3 separate regions of the Homo sapiens genome follow, and all the other regions are linked to region 1. Evidence: promoter capture Hi-C in human tissues and cell types (Jung and others, 2019). All regions are on one chromosome and are shown on one strand. The core of a region is centred on a gene start or on the middle of the fragment in contact, and the rest is flanking DNA. Distances in the headings are between cores, read along the strand shown. Region 1 holds the start of MYH2 (myosin heavy chain 2). Region 2 holds the start of MYH13 (myosin heavy chain 13). Region 3 overlaps MYH8 (myosin heavy chain 8).

Evidence for each region. Contacts are between HindIII fragments. The study calls those that stand out against the background at their distance.
Region 2: the fragment with the promoter of MYH13 here is called in contact with the fragment with the promoter of MYH2 in region 1 in 4 of the 25 tissues and cell types used here (hippocampus, mesendoderm cells, pancreas and 1 more).
Region 3: a contact is called between a fragment that was not itself captured here and the fragment with the promoter of MYH2 in region 1, in 2 of the 25 tissues and cell types used here (liver and mesendoderm cells).

Annotation. Positions count from the first base shown.
Region 1 is chr17:10,547,187-10,552,100 of GRCh38, forward strand. MYH2 (myosin heavy chain 2) reads right to left here and starts at 2,472. Exons shown (of 40, transcript NM_017534.6): 1 at 2,450-2,472; 2 at 2,189-2,231; 3 at 531-754; 4 at 289-432. The coding sequence starts at 734. All of the region lies in intron 2 of MYHAS (myosin heavy chain gene cluster antisense RNA), which reads left to right. The HindIII fragment of the contact is 30,725 bases long and covers 1-4,914 here.
Region 2 is chr17:10,370,944-10,375,857 of GRCh38, forward strand. It overlaps MYH13 (myosin heavy chain 13), which reads right to left and starts at 2,063. Exons shown (of 41, transcript NM_003802.3): 1 at 2,036-2,063; 2 at 266-316. The HindIII fragment of the contact is 16,892 bases long and covers 1-3,712 here.
Region 3 is chr17:10,398,405-10,403,318 of GRCh38, forward strand. MYH8 (myosin heavy chain 8) reads right to left here. Exons shown (of 40, transcript NM_002472.3): 23 at 3,139-3,381; 24 at 2,871-3,047; 25 at 2,642-2,787; 26 at 2,465-2,555; 27 at 1,986-2,375; 28 at 1,139-1,265; 29 at 364-482; 30 at 40-236. The region is part of intron 1 of MYHAS (myosin heavy chain gene cluster antisense RNA); the gene reads left to right. Among named protein-coding and RNA genes, the nearest start is that of MYHAS, 18 kb to the left of the region's middle. RefSeq lists an enhancer at 2,105-3,304. The HindIII fragment of the contact is 4,137 bases long and covers 185-4,321 here.

The DNA of each region.
Region 1 (4,914 bases), core at 1,222-3,721:
TACCTGTGATTGAAATATAAGTAGTAACTGCTCAAATGCCTATTGAAGGGTTTCTGGGCAAACCTAGTCAACATGGACAGCGGCCTTCCCCAGCTTTGGATGGGAAAACAAGGAAGTGCTGGCTGTTGAGCTGTGCTTTACGATAGCAATCATGAAGCCTTTTAACTAGTTATGCTGCAATGAAAGTGAAATGGGTCACTACCTGTGACCTATTTATGCTCAGTGGAAGAAGCAGGATGGTAGGGTACATGAGGATGATTATACAGAGCACTGGCAGGGGACACTCACGTAGATCATCCAGGCTGCATAACGTTCTTTGAGGTTGTACAGCACAGCAGGCTCATGCAGATGAGTCATCATGGCCATATCCTCGATCTTGTCATATTTGGGAGGGTTCATGGGGAAGACCTGATCATCCTTCACTGTCAGAGTCTGGTAAACAGGAAAGATAACCGTTTACATTAATTGAGTGACCAAACAACAACAACAAAAATCAATAAAATGTGGCAAGCTCCTGGGATTCTACTCACCGCTCCTCCCTCAGTCTTCACCGTCACTTTTCCTCCTTCTCTGCTCTGGATGGTCCCTTTGACAAAGGATTCTTTGGGCTCCGCCACAAAGACAGATGTTTTGGCATCAAAGGGCCTATTCTGGGCCTCAATGCGCTCCCTTTCAGACTTTCGGAGGAAAGGAGCAGCCTCCCCAAAAACAGCCAATTCTGAGTCTGAACTCATGGCTGCTGAACTCAGAGGTCCTAAAGGAGATAAAACTTTCACATTAGAGAGTCTGGATTGCCATGTATACCAATAAATCTTAATATTTATTGTATTTCATAGGCCCAGTTGGAAATTCCACTAGACAGGTCTACTGTTCACCATACTATAGTTACTGAGACAAACATAATCACAAGAACGAAAATGCATCAGGTGGTCTCTGTGTACCCAATGCCGTATTTAGGGCTTTGCATCCACTGTCTTATTTCATCCTCCAGGACTCACATTCTCATTGGGAACTGAATTACAGTCCAGTGCTGCTGTCAAGTAGCTTGTGACCTTGGGTATGTCACTTGATGTTTTTGAGCCTAAGTGACTCCATCTTTAGAATAGGGATTATAAATTCTGCCTTTCTAAATTCACAGCCCATGATATATGTGAAGATACTTTGAAAAAGAGGTTTAAATGATGACTGAGAAAGTAATTTGAAATTGTTCAGGCCACCATTTATATATGAGATGTCATGAATTATCATGTCACAAAATTCCATGTCTTGAATGTAATGTAGAAGAACTTTATTTCCTCCTTTACCTGTTCAGCCAGATTTGTTGAAGTTCAGTGGCTTATTGGAGATTATAATTTTGTTTACCTTTTTTTCTTTTAGGTTAGGTGCTTAGTATAGTTTCTCTGACATAATTTTTTGCATATTAAATACAGTTCATCAGTTTAACCCCCTTAAACTAATTAGGGATAAAAACAGTAGCCAACGTTAACCTCATTCTTCTACATCTAAGGGCTCCCTTTACTATTCCAAATTTTCCTTTGAAGCATGCAGGCCCTGTTTGCTCCGTTCTATGTGATCTGTAGGTTGCCAGTGGTATCAGTAGAATGAAAGGTTTGGCAAATAATTCTACCGCAGTCATTACATGATCAAATTACTTGAAACTCATTTGAATCGTCTCTTCTAGTCTCTCCCTTTAGAAATGCAGTAAGTAGTGGGAGGGCAGATTAATACCTCTATTATATATAAGAAAAATGCCACAGCACTCGGCATTGTGTAAGGTGACTTTTTACAAGGGCTTTAAGAAGTTTAAAGAAAGGATTGTCTTACTTCCATTTTACATTGTTGGACATTATGTTTACTAAATGAATTCTAACAGCAGGATACATTTTTATCAAATTTGAGATTTTTAGCCAGGGAATCTGAGGGTAGACTCTTTTTTTCCTGCACAGACAATATATTTATTCAAAGCGATTCCCCTGCTCAAATGTCACCCCACCAATGCTTGAGCCGTAAATGAGGATGTGTGCATTGTCCTGAAAGGACAGTCCTCCCTTTCTCACCGCTTTCCTGAAGCACAGTTGTTAAAGGGTATTTACTGAGACAAGCACTTTCTGAAAGGTTGCTAAGTGACAGAAATCCATCCCAGAGCCTCTTGCATTCTCCTCCAGGAACTGGTTAGTCCAAATCTTACCTTGTTAGCAAGTGAGAAGATGTAGCCTGGGAGTGAGACAGTTCTATAAAAGAAAAGGGAAAAGCACTTGATTAGTTGACCAAAAAGAGGGGGAAAAAATCCCATTTATGGCATGGCTTGCTATTGTAAACAGAAGTAACAAAATTCATAGAGGTAAAACGTGCAGTTCCAGAAGGAGCAGTACCAGAACTAGCAGCTGCTGCTGACACTGGGCGGTGTGACCAGTGTCCCTCTTGAAAGGCCCGTCCTGCTCCCACTTACCTTGGAGCTTTTTAAAGCAGGACGAGTCAGCCTCATTCCAAGGGCTCTTTTATATGGATAGCTATGGAAACAATGCAGCTGCCTCTTCTTTCTTAAGTCAAAAGGAATTGTTTGGCAAAATACCTCTTGGCAATCTAGCGTCCCCGCATAATTCTCATTCATATTAAGAATGGTTGGATATAATTAGAAATATTTTTCTTATTGAGTATGTGGATAAATCTCCTATGGATAATTTGAGAAGATGATCTGAAAGAGTCAAGCTGGTGGATAAAGGCAGTGGCTGGGCAGCCAGGATACCTGGCTTCCCTCGGAACTTCTTTTTGGCTTTGCTGGGCACAGCATTCGGGCTTGCCTCGCATCACTTTCGCATATTTCACGTGTTAAGTCACATAAATAAAATACAAATATGTATTTTAATTTTGTGACAGTTAATTTTTACCTGTTGGTCCTTTCTTTCCAGCCCTGCAAAATTAAGCGATGTGCCTTCAACAACTTAAAGAGACAGAAGGTCCTCTCTGTTATTCCAATATTCCTGTAGTTTCAGGAATTTCCTTGCTCGCTCACCTTTTTGCTTTTGCCAAAGTTGTTCCCTCTACTTAGCACACCATTTCCTGTCCCCCTACCCATTTGACTTGCCTGAAATAAAAAAGGTTGAATATTTTCTAGTAGCAGAGGTGTTTTTAGAGAGTACTTTTCAACATTTTTTCGTGTCATAGCCCGCTGAGAAAAAAATGACAATATTAGTGTAGCATGCTAGAGTAATGTGGAAGGGATTTGTCTATATCTGTAAAGGGCTTGGGGAGAATATTTTTAATTTTTTTACATTCCTTTATGTAATATAAATATAATAACTATGATACACATAGCATTAAGGAAAATATTAAATACTGAATATGTCGGAAACTTACAAATAATATCTTCTTGAAAATCCTAAGGAAAAATTTGAGCTATATCCTACAAATAAAACTTGTTTGTTTCTGACTTTATTCTTGAAATATGACACAAATTTCCAGATCAAATTTTCAAAAATGATACAAACAGTATCTGTGTTCTTGATAATTACCATAGCGGGGATTTTTGTCCAAGAAGGAGGGATGAAAATGGAAAACCAAGTAATTTACAACTGTTGGAGTATTTTAAAAATTCACCAGTTCTTCTTTCTCCTTCATTGAAAAATATAATGTTGAATATTCTCGTACAGTGAAAATAAGTTTTTAATCCATTTAAACTCTCTCTTTCATATCAAATATTTCAAAGGATAATGAAGCTCTAATCTTCAAAAACTTCATGGGTTAAAGGAGTCATCAGCATTGGTCAAAGGGCACACCAGTCACAAATACACACAAGTACCTGATCTATTCAAAGTCTAAGGTTTGGAGCTATTACTGTGGGCTACCTCTTCCAGTACAACCTACTTAGCCTTCTGGCACCTTTACTCTGGCTGGATGCTCTCTGGGCTGCATGCCTTGTCCCAGGCATCCTGGAACACCAACCCTCCCAGCAATTCCAGGGGTCTCTTGACTGCAGAAGACAGCATTACATTCTCAGCTGGCTGCTGAAGTCCTTCTTGGTTCCATCCAGCACATGGCAAATACCACCATTGTGCTTGCCTCCTGTAGGAATCATAGGTTATGCTGTCAGACTCGAATGCAGCCCAGTCAACACTCTGAGGAACCCTTAGTCAGCCTTCTCCCAGCTAGGAGCCACCTCCCAAGGTCCCCCTCCCCATCCAGCCATTCTGAGACTGAAGAGATCAACATTTTATGGCACATCAGTTACCTTTTTGATGCCAAGATACACTGGTTGGGAAGCTCTGTTTTAAGGTGAGCTGTTGAGCTGTTTTTCCAAACTAAACAGCCATTTTTAGTGCCCACAGCAATAGTTTAATATTCTCTTGTTCCATCTCTGCTGCCAATGGGCATTTTCCTTATGTTTTATTAAATAGTTCTTATTTTATGTTATTTACAAAATGATCTTCACTTTTTTTTTTTTTTTTGAGATGGAGTCTCACTCTGTCACCCAGGCTGGAATGCAGTGGCATGATCCCGGCTCACTGCAACCTCCGCCTCCCGGGTTCAAGCAATTCTCCTGCCTCAGCCTCCCAAGTAGGTGGGACTACAGGCACATGCCACCACGCCCAGCTAATTTTTTTGTATTTTTAGTAGAGATGGGGTTTCACCATGTTAGCCAGGATGGTCTCAATCTCCTGACCTTGTGATACACCCGCCTCGGCCTCCCAAAGTTCTGGGATTACTGGTGTGAGCTACCGCGCCCAGCCTGATCTTCAATTTTAAGTCAATCCATGGTTCTATATTCTGTTTCCTCATTTGGTAAACTCCTTCAGTGAATACTGTGTTCTATAGGTAGCCGCTGTCTAATACATTGTTTTTGACTATAAAGAAGAAAATGCAAAGCCTTGTTCCCAGTAATTAAGAGACACACCTTAATTGTTCCCGTGCCACTTG
Region 2 (4,914 bases), core at 813-3,312, 180 kb before region 1:
GTACTGTGTATTGACTTGGAGCTTGTATGTCAAAATTCTGCATTATATTTCGTACATTTCAGTGTAATGAGCAAATAGGAGAAGCCATTCTTCCTTTGGTAAAACCTGTATATATTTTAAAATCTACCTTTAAGAATAGTTAAGTTATTGGTTTCAAACTCATCAATTTCGTCTTCTTATGAGTGTGGCAAGAATGAGAACGTGTAAAATGATGTTTGCTAATTTCAATGATTGCATTCATGATCAAGCTGAAAATAACCCTTACCTTCTTGGTTCCCAAGTGACAGTCAGTGTCCTTCAGGAATAAAGCGTCTTCCTGGGGATAATTTGAGAAAAAAAAACAAACCAAAAAAACCCAAATGAGCTACAAAGAGTTTAAATAAATATAGAAACCATGTTTGTTCCAGTTTATCTACCTTAAATAGATACACAGTAGATGGTGTGGAATGAAATAAATTTGCTGTTTTGAATTTTTACTTTTGATTAAAATCATTATTCTTTAAATAGTTGGTTAATTACAACATTTAATTAATACTCTCTTGAGAAACTTCTGTGTGTACAATGTACTGTGTCAGCTCCTTAAGGGGGTATGAAGAGGAAAGTACAGTATCTGCCCTATAGGAATGCAAAAGTTAGTAAGGGATAAGAGAATGCTCAAGTAAGTCTTTGAACAGGATTAAGACAAATTTTTAAGGAGTCTAAACAAAGTACTATGGGAACTTAGAGAAACCGCTTCTGACTGGGGGGCTGTGAGGGGTCAGGGAAGAAAGAAAGTAGGGAGGGGAATGCTCCAGATTGCAGCTTGGATGCTTAGGGGCAGTCACCTTTTTTTGGCAATAGGAGAAAAGTTATAAATTGTGGACAAAGACTTCTTTATTCTCTTCAATGCTCTAAATTCCTCCTGCAGATGATGAAGGTAGGGCAGCTGAAAAGTCACCTGGGACTAAGGAATCTCAGCTCTAGGAGTTTATAAACTACGTGGCTATCTCAAGGAGGCATGAGTGTCTGAAAAATTTTCAATATCAAATGTAATCTAAGCAAACTTCCCAATTACCATTCAGTGCTTTTATGGAGCCAGGGGAATATTTCATGAAGCCCTATTTAGGCAGGAACAGACACTTAGGATTTGGTTTACTATCCTTGTTGCCTCCTTCCTTCTCCGTCTTTAATGCATCTTAAATAATCTCCAGTTATATCCTAAAATTCTCACAATTTCTTAAAAAATTAAAGTATTACATACTATATTCTGAATCCTCAATTTAAAAAAATATGGAGGCAGAGCTACAGAAATTCTAATATCAGTTCTGTTAAGTAGCTGGTATGATTTCTTTGGGTTTCTGTTTCCTTCCGTAAAATGAATCAGATGCACCAGAAAATCTCCAAGATTCCTTTCAGCCCTATGAGTCTATAACAGACAGTTCTCCGTAGAGATGGTGGCCTGAATTCAAAGTATCACAAATCTCTGAGGGATGCTATTGCACTGTCAGACACAGTCCAGTCCCAAGTCCATAAAATATGCCATGTGAGAACAGTCTGCAAACCAGTCAATTCATATCAGACTATGACACTTTGTAAGATGGGTAAGATGCTTGGGATTATTTCCTCCCACAACCATTTTTCAGAAATCCTGACATGGGAAACAAATTAAATAAACATAAAAATTTCAAATAATAGCTTAAGCAATCACAGAAGAGATACCACAAGTTACCAAGTTAATTTGCTAACTGAACAGTATAACATTGACCTAAATAATCAGAGGAGGAATCATGCATTATACTCAGTTTTGTTCTGCAGGTGAATATTTTTTGTCTTATAATTGCTTATATTCTTGTCTTTTCACCCCTTGTAAAAGTTTCTTGAAAGGCAGTTGTCTTGTCTTTCCATCTTGTCTCCAACCTTGCCCTCAACACAAGACCTTGCACTTAGTAGGCCCTCCGTAAAGGCTACTTTATTGTCTTCCCCCCTTGACTGGTAACCTGATCAGGTGCAACTATAGCTACGTGGAGCAAAAAAGTGAGCACTTGTGAGCACTTACCTAGAGATGCTGCGGTCACAGCAATTTCAGGAGTGTGACCCCCCAGCTCTCTTTATACTCCCAAATCTGCCAGCCCAGCACTCTAACTTGGCTATATTTGGGGGAGCACCATTTACTTGTTAGATGTAAATGCGTCGTAGCCCTGATCTCTCACTCTTGTTAAGTTACTTGGATAAATGACCAGTGGAGGCTGCATAATGCCAAGTCAGCTGCATAGGGATTTTGACGTTGGACACAGATCTTTGAGACTTAGAGAGTCCTAGGGGCTGAGTGGAACTGGAGCAGAGTGTGCTAAGAAGGTCACTGAAGGGCAGAACCACAGGATGCTTTGTCAAGCAATGGGTGATCAGTAGTGTGGACAGTAACTACACCTCATTTACCCAGCATTGGTATGGGATGGTGTGCTTCTCATCTCAGAAATCTCTGGAAATTTAAGGTTGACCTTTTAACACATCCAGTCTTATTTATGTATTTGTTTGTTTAAAAATCTACTGGAAGAAAAGCTTTCCAAAATGTATTTTACATTATCCTGCTCTGTGTAACCTACTATCTTGAATAGAATTTAAGTTTTTCTTGATCACTCTGGGGGTCTGGGAGATGATATAATAAAGTCATCAAGGATCTGGTTCTTAGTGGATCATGCCTGCACTAATTGTTCCTGCTGTGAATTTTGGTGTATACTTTTATTTATTATTATTATTATTATCGAAACAGAGTCTTGCTCTCTCCTCTAGGCTGGAGTGCAGTGGCGTGATCTTGGTTCGCTGCAAACTCCATTTCCCAGGTTCAAGCAATTCTCTTGTCTCAGCCTCCCAAGTAGTTGGGATTATAGGCATGTGCTATAATCCCATGTGTTATATATAGGCATGTGCTATAATCGCCCAGCTAATTTTTATATTTTTAGTAGAGACAGGGTTTCACCATGTTGGCCAGGGTGGTTTCGAACTCCTGACCTCAAGTGATCCTCCCGCCTCGGCCTCCCAAAATGCTGGGATTACAAGTGTGAGCCACCACACTTGGCCTTACTTTTTAGATTTTCTGTCTTTGCCTTCATGGCCAGCCTCTCAGGTATAATTTCTTTCTGTGGTAAGTTTGTCTTTACTAGCCTGATTTTGTATTATTGATTGGGAAAGAGATTACAAAATTAAGATCAGGCTAAAGTAAGAGTAAATAAGTTCTGAGTGCAGCTCTAGTGGGTTCTAATGAAAATACGTGGACTTTGTGACAATTATAGTTACTTAGGAGTTTTTTTATTTTTTGCTAAAATATAAGTGATGTTTGACTATGTAGGAACAACTGTATATGTAGAAGTTAGAGCCATTTACTGCAATACAGTGTGATCTGTTTAAATTGTATATAATCAGTGTTTGTTGAATCAAAGTTTCCTTAATCAGTCTCCAGTGGGTAGAATTTCATGTAGGTAGGGCATTTCCAAAAGATAGTTTGCATTAATCAAAGTGAATTTTAGACCAGAGGAGGAGCAGGTAGAGATAGGACTTCCACAAAGTATTTTCTCTTCCTTCCTTCCTTCCTTCCTTCCTTCCTTCCTTCCTTCCTTCCTTCCTTCCCTCCCTCCCTCCCTCCTTCCTTCCTTCCTTCTTTCGTTCCTTTCTTTCTTTCTCTCTCTTTCTTTCTCTTTCTTTCTTTTTTTTTTTTGAGACAGAGTTTTGCTCTTGTTGCCCAGGCTGGATTGCAATGGCGCGACCTCCGCCCACCACAACCTCCGCCTTGTGGGTTCAAGCGATTTTCCTGCCTCAGCCTCCCGAGTAGCTGGGATTACAGGCATGTGCCACCAGGCCCAGCTAATTTTGTATTTTTAATAGAGACGGGGTTTCACCATGTTGGTCAGGCTGGTCTCGAACTCCCGACCTCAGGTGATCCGCCTGCCTTGGCCTCCCAAAGTGCTGGGATTACAGGCATGAGCCTGGCTTCCACAAAGTATTTTCTAAAGTAGATTTGACAGAATGCAGATTGGGAGGGTCGCTTCGAAATAAATGGTCCTGTGGTTAAATGAGCTTAAGAAATGTGTTAAACTCTATTCCCTCCTGTTAGAGATTCATCATAAATATTAGCATATTAAGGGATGTGAGAAGCCCTTCAGTAAAGAAATATGAATACTTTTTTTTTAGACCTGGAACTTCCCTAGGTGATTTGATGTTGGAACACAAACTTATTTATTTCCTGTTCCAGAAAACAAGAGAGGAAAGGCTGAAGGACATAATCCATAGCAAAGTTCTGGCCCAGAAGAAAGCAACCGAGAGTGATCAGCCCTAAGCACAGTTGCTTTTATTTGAGGTGCAGCCTTTTGCATGTAGCAGATGCTCAGTAAATGTTCGTCCTGGTGAATAAATGAATCAAGATGACTCATAGGGGAGTCATCCTGACTCATGTGTTGAAAGGCCTGAAGTGATAAGAAAAGAATGGAATCAGACTCTGAGTTTCATTTAATGGTAATAATTAAGACTTAAGAACTAGGCTGGGTGCAGTGGCTCACACCTGTAATCCCAGCACTTTGGGAGGCCGAGCCGGGTGGATCACTTGAAGTCAGCAGTTTGACATCAGCCTGGCCAACATGGTGAAACCCCATCTCTACTAAAAATACCAATAAAATTAGCCAGGCGTGGTGGTGCACACCTGCATTCCCAGCTACTTGGCAGGCTGAGGCAGGAGACTCGCGTGAACCCAGGAGGTGGAAGTTGCAGTGAGTGAAGATGGCACCGTTGCACTCTAGTCTGGGCAACAGAGAAAGACTCCATCTCACATAAAAAAAAAAAAAGAAAGAAAGAAAGAAAAGAAAAAAGACTTAAGAACTCACCACATGCCAGGCTTTATCCATATTGATTCACTGAAGCTTTATAATAGTCCTGTGAGGTAGGTGC
Region 3 (4,914 bases), core at 1,003-3,502, 150 kb before region 1:
GCTTCTGGGAGTTCCTCTTCTAGAGTTCACAGCACATACTTGGCCTCCTCCAGCTCCTCTGTGCGCTGGATGGCATCCGTCTCGTATTTGGTTCTCCACTGGGCAACCTCACTGTTGGCCTTGGACAGCGCCCTCTGCAGCTCAGCTTTGCCTTCCTGCTCTTCCTCATACTGTTCCCGCAGCAGGTCGCAGTCATGGCGGGAGGACTGCAGGGCGTGTGCCAGGGCGTTCTTGGCCTGCAGAAGTAGCAGTTCAGTGACATAAATTCATGTATTCAGTGATATTTAACTTACACATCCCAAGTAGAGCCTAACTGGGCAGGTTTAGATTTGGTTAGTCAAAAAAATCCTTGGCAAAACTCACTTTAGTTTCTTCCTCTAGTTGATGTTTCAGCTCTTCAATCTGCTGAGTAGATGCTTGCTTGCTCCTTGAAAGCTGAGAGACTAAAGCATCTTTCTCATCTAATTGTCGAGAATATTCACCTAGGAATAATAGACATAAGGGAATTTTTTACTGGCATAAAAATAAGCCTAAACCTTTTACATTTATATATGTGTGTGTGTATATATATATGTATATATGTGTGTGTGTATATATATATATATATATATATACAAGTTGTATATACCTTACCTGAAATGCTTGGGACCAGAAGTGTTTCAGATTTCAGATTTTTGTTTGATTTTAGAATATTTGCATTACACTTGCCAGTTCAGCATCCCTAATCCGAAAATCTAAAATCTGAAATGCTGCAGTGAGCATTTCCTTTGGACATCATGTCAGCCCTCAGTTTTGAATTTTGGAGCATTTCAGATTTTTGATTTTCAGATTAGGGATACTCAACCTGTGTGTGTGTGTGTGTGTCTGTTTGTGTGTGATGTGTTTAATCTACACTTCATCTGCTTCTAAGTATTTTTTTAGCACTGGTTAGAACCGGAGATTTAAAAGCAGCATTGCCATAGAAGTGTTGTAAGTAAACTTGTCTGCTCAGTCTTGACTTCTTTCCTTTTTGACCTTCTTAGCAAACTCTGATCATTTGTTTATCTTTCTCTAAAGTGGGAATATTGCTATTTATTAGAACCCCTAGAATCCATTTTATTTAGTCCATGGTGTTGGGACCCAGAGAAGATGTCTTTACCCGCTTCTGTCTGCAGGCGCGCTCTCTGTGCTGTGAGGTCATTGATCAGCCGCTGCTGCTCCTCTTCCTTGGTCTTAAGCTCACTCACTTGATCTTCTAGAGAGCGGCACATCTTTTCAAGGTTTCCCTACAGGATATGTAGCAATGAAAGATGAGACATTGAATGCAATAAAAAGGTTAAAACTTGATTCTTAAAATATTTGTAGAGTAAATAAATTCATGTCAAGTGTGAGTAGAAAGTTAGGACATCAACTCTGTGGAACATGCAAGAATTTAGGCATGGCGAGTGCATAGTGTGCCTAAACTGGTCATTGTTGGAGACCATTTATTCCAATGATATTGACGCTTGCTTAAAGTGGATTTTGAAATCATCTTAATAGGCCGGGCGCGGTGGCTCATGCCTGTAATCCCAGCACTTTGGGAGGCCGAGGCGGGCGGATCATGAGGTTAGGAGATCGAGAGCATCCTGGCTAACACGGTGAAACCCCGTCTCTACTAAAAATACAAAAAATTAGCTAGGCGTGCTGGCGGGCGCCTGTAGTCCCAGCTACTGGGGAGGCTGAGGCAGGAGAGTGGCGTGAACCCGGGAGGCGGAGCTTGCAGTGAGCCGAGATTGCGCCACTGCACTTCAGCCTGGGCGACAGAGTGAGACTCCATCCCCCCGCTCCAAAAAAAAATCATCTTAATCGATCATAACCAGCATTTTAAAAAATACCATAGAATGGGATATATTTGGTTAGAAAATATTTGAGTAGTGCTGTAAAATGCCTGCAAACAATGTTTAGTGATAGAGAATAATGGGTGTTCTTACAGATGATTACCTTCATTTAGAGACAGTATTGGGTACCTTGGCTTTGGAAATGGCCTCTGCGTTACTGCTGAGGTCATCAGTCTCCATCTTCAGCTCACTCTTCTCCTTCTCCAGCTTCTGTTTGACCCGCTGCAAGTTGTCAATCTGCTCCCCAAGCTCAGCCATACTGTCTGCGTGCTTCTTCCGAAGAGCAGCCACCATAGCTTCATGCTGCAGGGTGGCCTCCTCCAGGTCCCTGCGCAGTTTCTGAAACTCAGCCTCCCGCTTCTTGTTCAATTCCACCTGAGCAGAAGTTGCCCCACCGGCTTCTTCCAGCCTCTCGCTGATCTCCTCCAGTTCCCGGGAGAGGTCAGAGCGCTGCTTCTCCGCTTTGGCTCGGGACGCCCTCTCTGCCTCGATTTCTTCCCCCAGCTCCTCAATGCGGGCCTGGGAATGAAAGAAGCACATAAACATAAACTCATCTCAACTTCAGTGTTTTTTTGGTGTGCAGAAAAAATAGAGGTGAGATGACTCACCTGCAACTCTTTGATCTTCTTCTGTAGTTGAATTTCTACAGCTTGCTCATCTTCAATTTTGCTTATCAAATTGCTGATTTCAAATTCTTTCCTTTAGACAGAAGAGCAAGACGTATTAATACTCATGTGAATTGAAAGATGATATCACATAGAAGTTTTTTTCTAAAAGGCTCCTACTTTTCAAGCTTTTCATCAAGTTGCTGTTTGTCATTTTCCATATCCATTGTGGATTCTTGGGCCAATTTGAGGTCACCCTCCAGTTTCCGCTTTGCTCTTTCTAGATCCATTCGAAGCTTCTTTTCTTGTTCCAGAGACCCTTCAAGCTAATAAGAAAGTAAATATGGTAAAAATTGAAAGTATATATTTTTAAAAAAATCTTTCAAAGGGATATTTAAAATGTGCTTACATCATCCACTTGCTGTTCTAGCTTGGTTTTAGCTTTGGTCAGGATGTTGACTTTGTCCTCCTCTGCCTGCAGGTCATCCAGGGTCTGCTGGTGGGTCTCTTGGAGAGCCTTCTTCTCCTTGGACAGTTTTGCAATGGTTTCATCCAGGCCTGCCATCTCTTCTGTAAGATTTTTCACCTACAAAGGTTAAGAAAGAGATTATTTCTCCTATAAAGCAATTTAGTTGGTGGCAGAACCTCTATACAGTATTGTAAAATATGACTGATACCTTGTTCTCCGTGGCATGTTTCTCCTTCTCAACCTTGGCCAGTGTCAGCTCAAGGTCATCAATGTCTTTCTTGAGTTCTGAACATTCATCCTCCAGTTTTCTCTTCTTGGCTGTCAGCTCAGCATTGATCTCTTCCTCCTCCTCAGCTCTTTCAGTCACCTCTTTGATTTTGGCCTCAAGTTGGATTTTGTTTTTAATCAGTTGCTCACACCTTTCCTCTGCATCAGCCAAGCTATCTGCTTCCTATGGAGAGATTCATTCAGATACTTAGAGTCTGTTACTTATTTTGAAACTTGGTGTTTTTTTTGCGCAAAAATAATAGTGTTTTATTGAATTCTGTTGAATTTTTCAGTATGAATATAAATTTAATTTAATCGAACATTATTACATGGTCTGGAGAAATGCAGCTTATTGGAAGTGAGACTATAGCTTTAGAAGCAAACTAGTTTGCAAAGTTATTGGATTGGAGCTATTGATTATTTAAAAAATAATTTGTAGAAGAGTGGAAAGACCTCTAAATCGGGCAAAAGGAAGCCTGGGTTCTTGTCCCAATATTGTTTGCATATGTATGACTTTGGGCAAATTGCTTTATTCCTTTCATTCTCAATTTTGTGTATATATATATATGGGTTGGAATAAATGATTGCCAAGAGCTTTTCAGCTGTAATATTTAAAGATTTTGATTTAGTTAAATTGGTTAGTTTTGGTTTTGATCATTCCCTGTCCCCCTCAAACCAATAATTGCTAGGCTGTATTGAAGAAAGAAAAAGAAGAAAAATAATTTAAATACATTTCCATGTAGTATTTTTTAATACACTAAAACCTTCCTGGTAGTTCATACAGTGCTATAATTGTTCAAAATTTACATTTCCATTTACAGAATTACCCATTAGTCTTAAGGTGAATTTTATTTTTTGGAACTTTTACCCCAACTTTTATTTTGAAAACTGTTAAACTTACCGAATAGCTGTATGAATAATACAATAAATTGCCATATACCATTTACCTAAATCCTCGTATTTTTAACATTTTACTGTTTTTTCTCTCTCTAAACACACACATAGACACATATATAGGCACATGTGCACGCACACACACACACACACTCTCCTAAATCATTTGAAAGTAAATGGCAGATATCATATTTTAGCATTTCTCTCCTAAGGACATGAACATTCTCCTATATAACTACAATACTGTTATTACAAATGAAAATATTAATCACTGATACAATAATATTATCTAATATACAGTCTATATTCAGATTTCCCCAGTGTAACAAAAATGTTCTTTAAGTTTTGTGGTTTCATTGTTTCATTTTTATACACAACATGGGCAATAGGCCTAAACTGCAACATAATTTTCAGAGAGTTGTACCATTGACTAGGCTAGAGGTTCTCATGCCCAGGACAATTCTAGTTAAGGAAAGATTGATGAACTGTTCTTAGCCCTTTCTGCTTTTGTGTTTTTGTTTGCTTTTGTTTTCCCATTCCCTTCTAAATCTGGTTAATGTGGAAAGTCTATGTTGAGCCCCTGAAATTTTGAAAATGTTCAAACCCATATGTCAAGTTAGGAAAAAAAAATAGAATGAACAGTGATATGTTATGAACCTAGATTTACCAGTTGCTAAGTTATGCCACATTTGCCTTGTCCATTCCATTTGTGGCCCTCTCCCCTCTCCCAATAATTATCAAAATGAATTTTAGAATATATGAGAAAATGTAATTCTCAGAAACTGTATAGCTCAATAAAGTTTTTATAAGTGACTAATGAAAG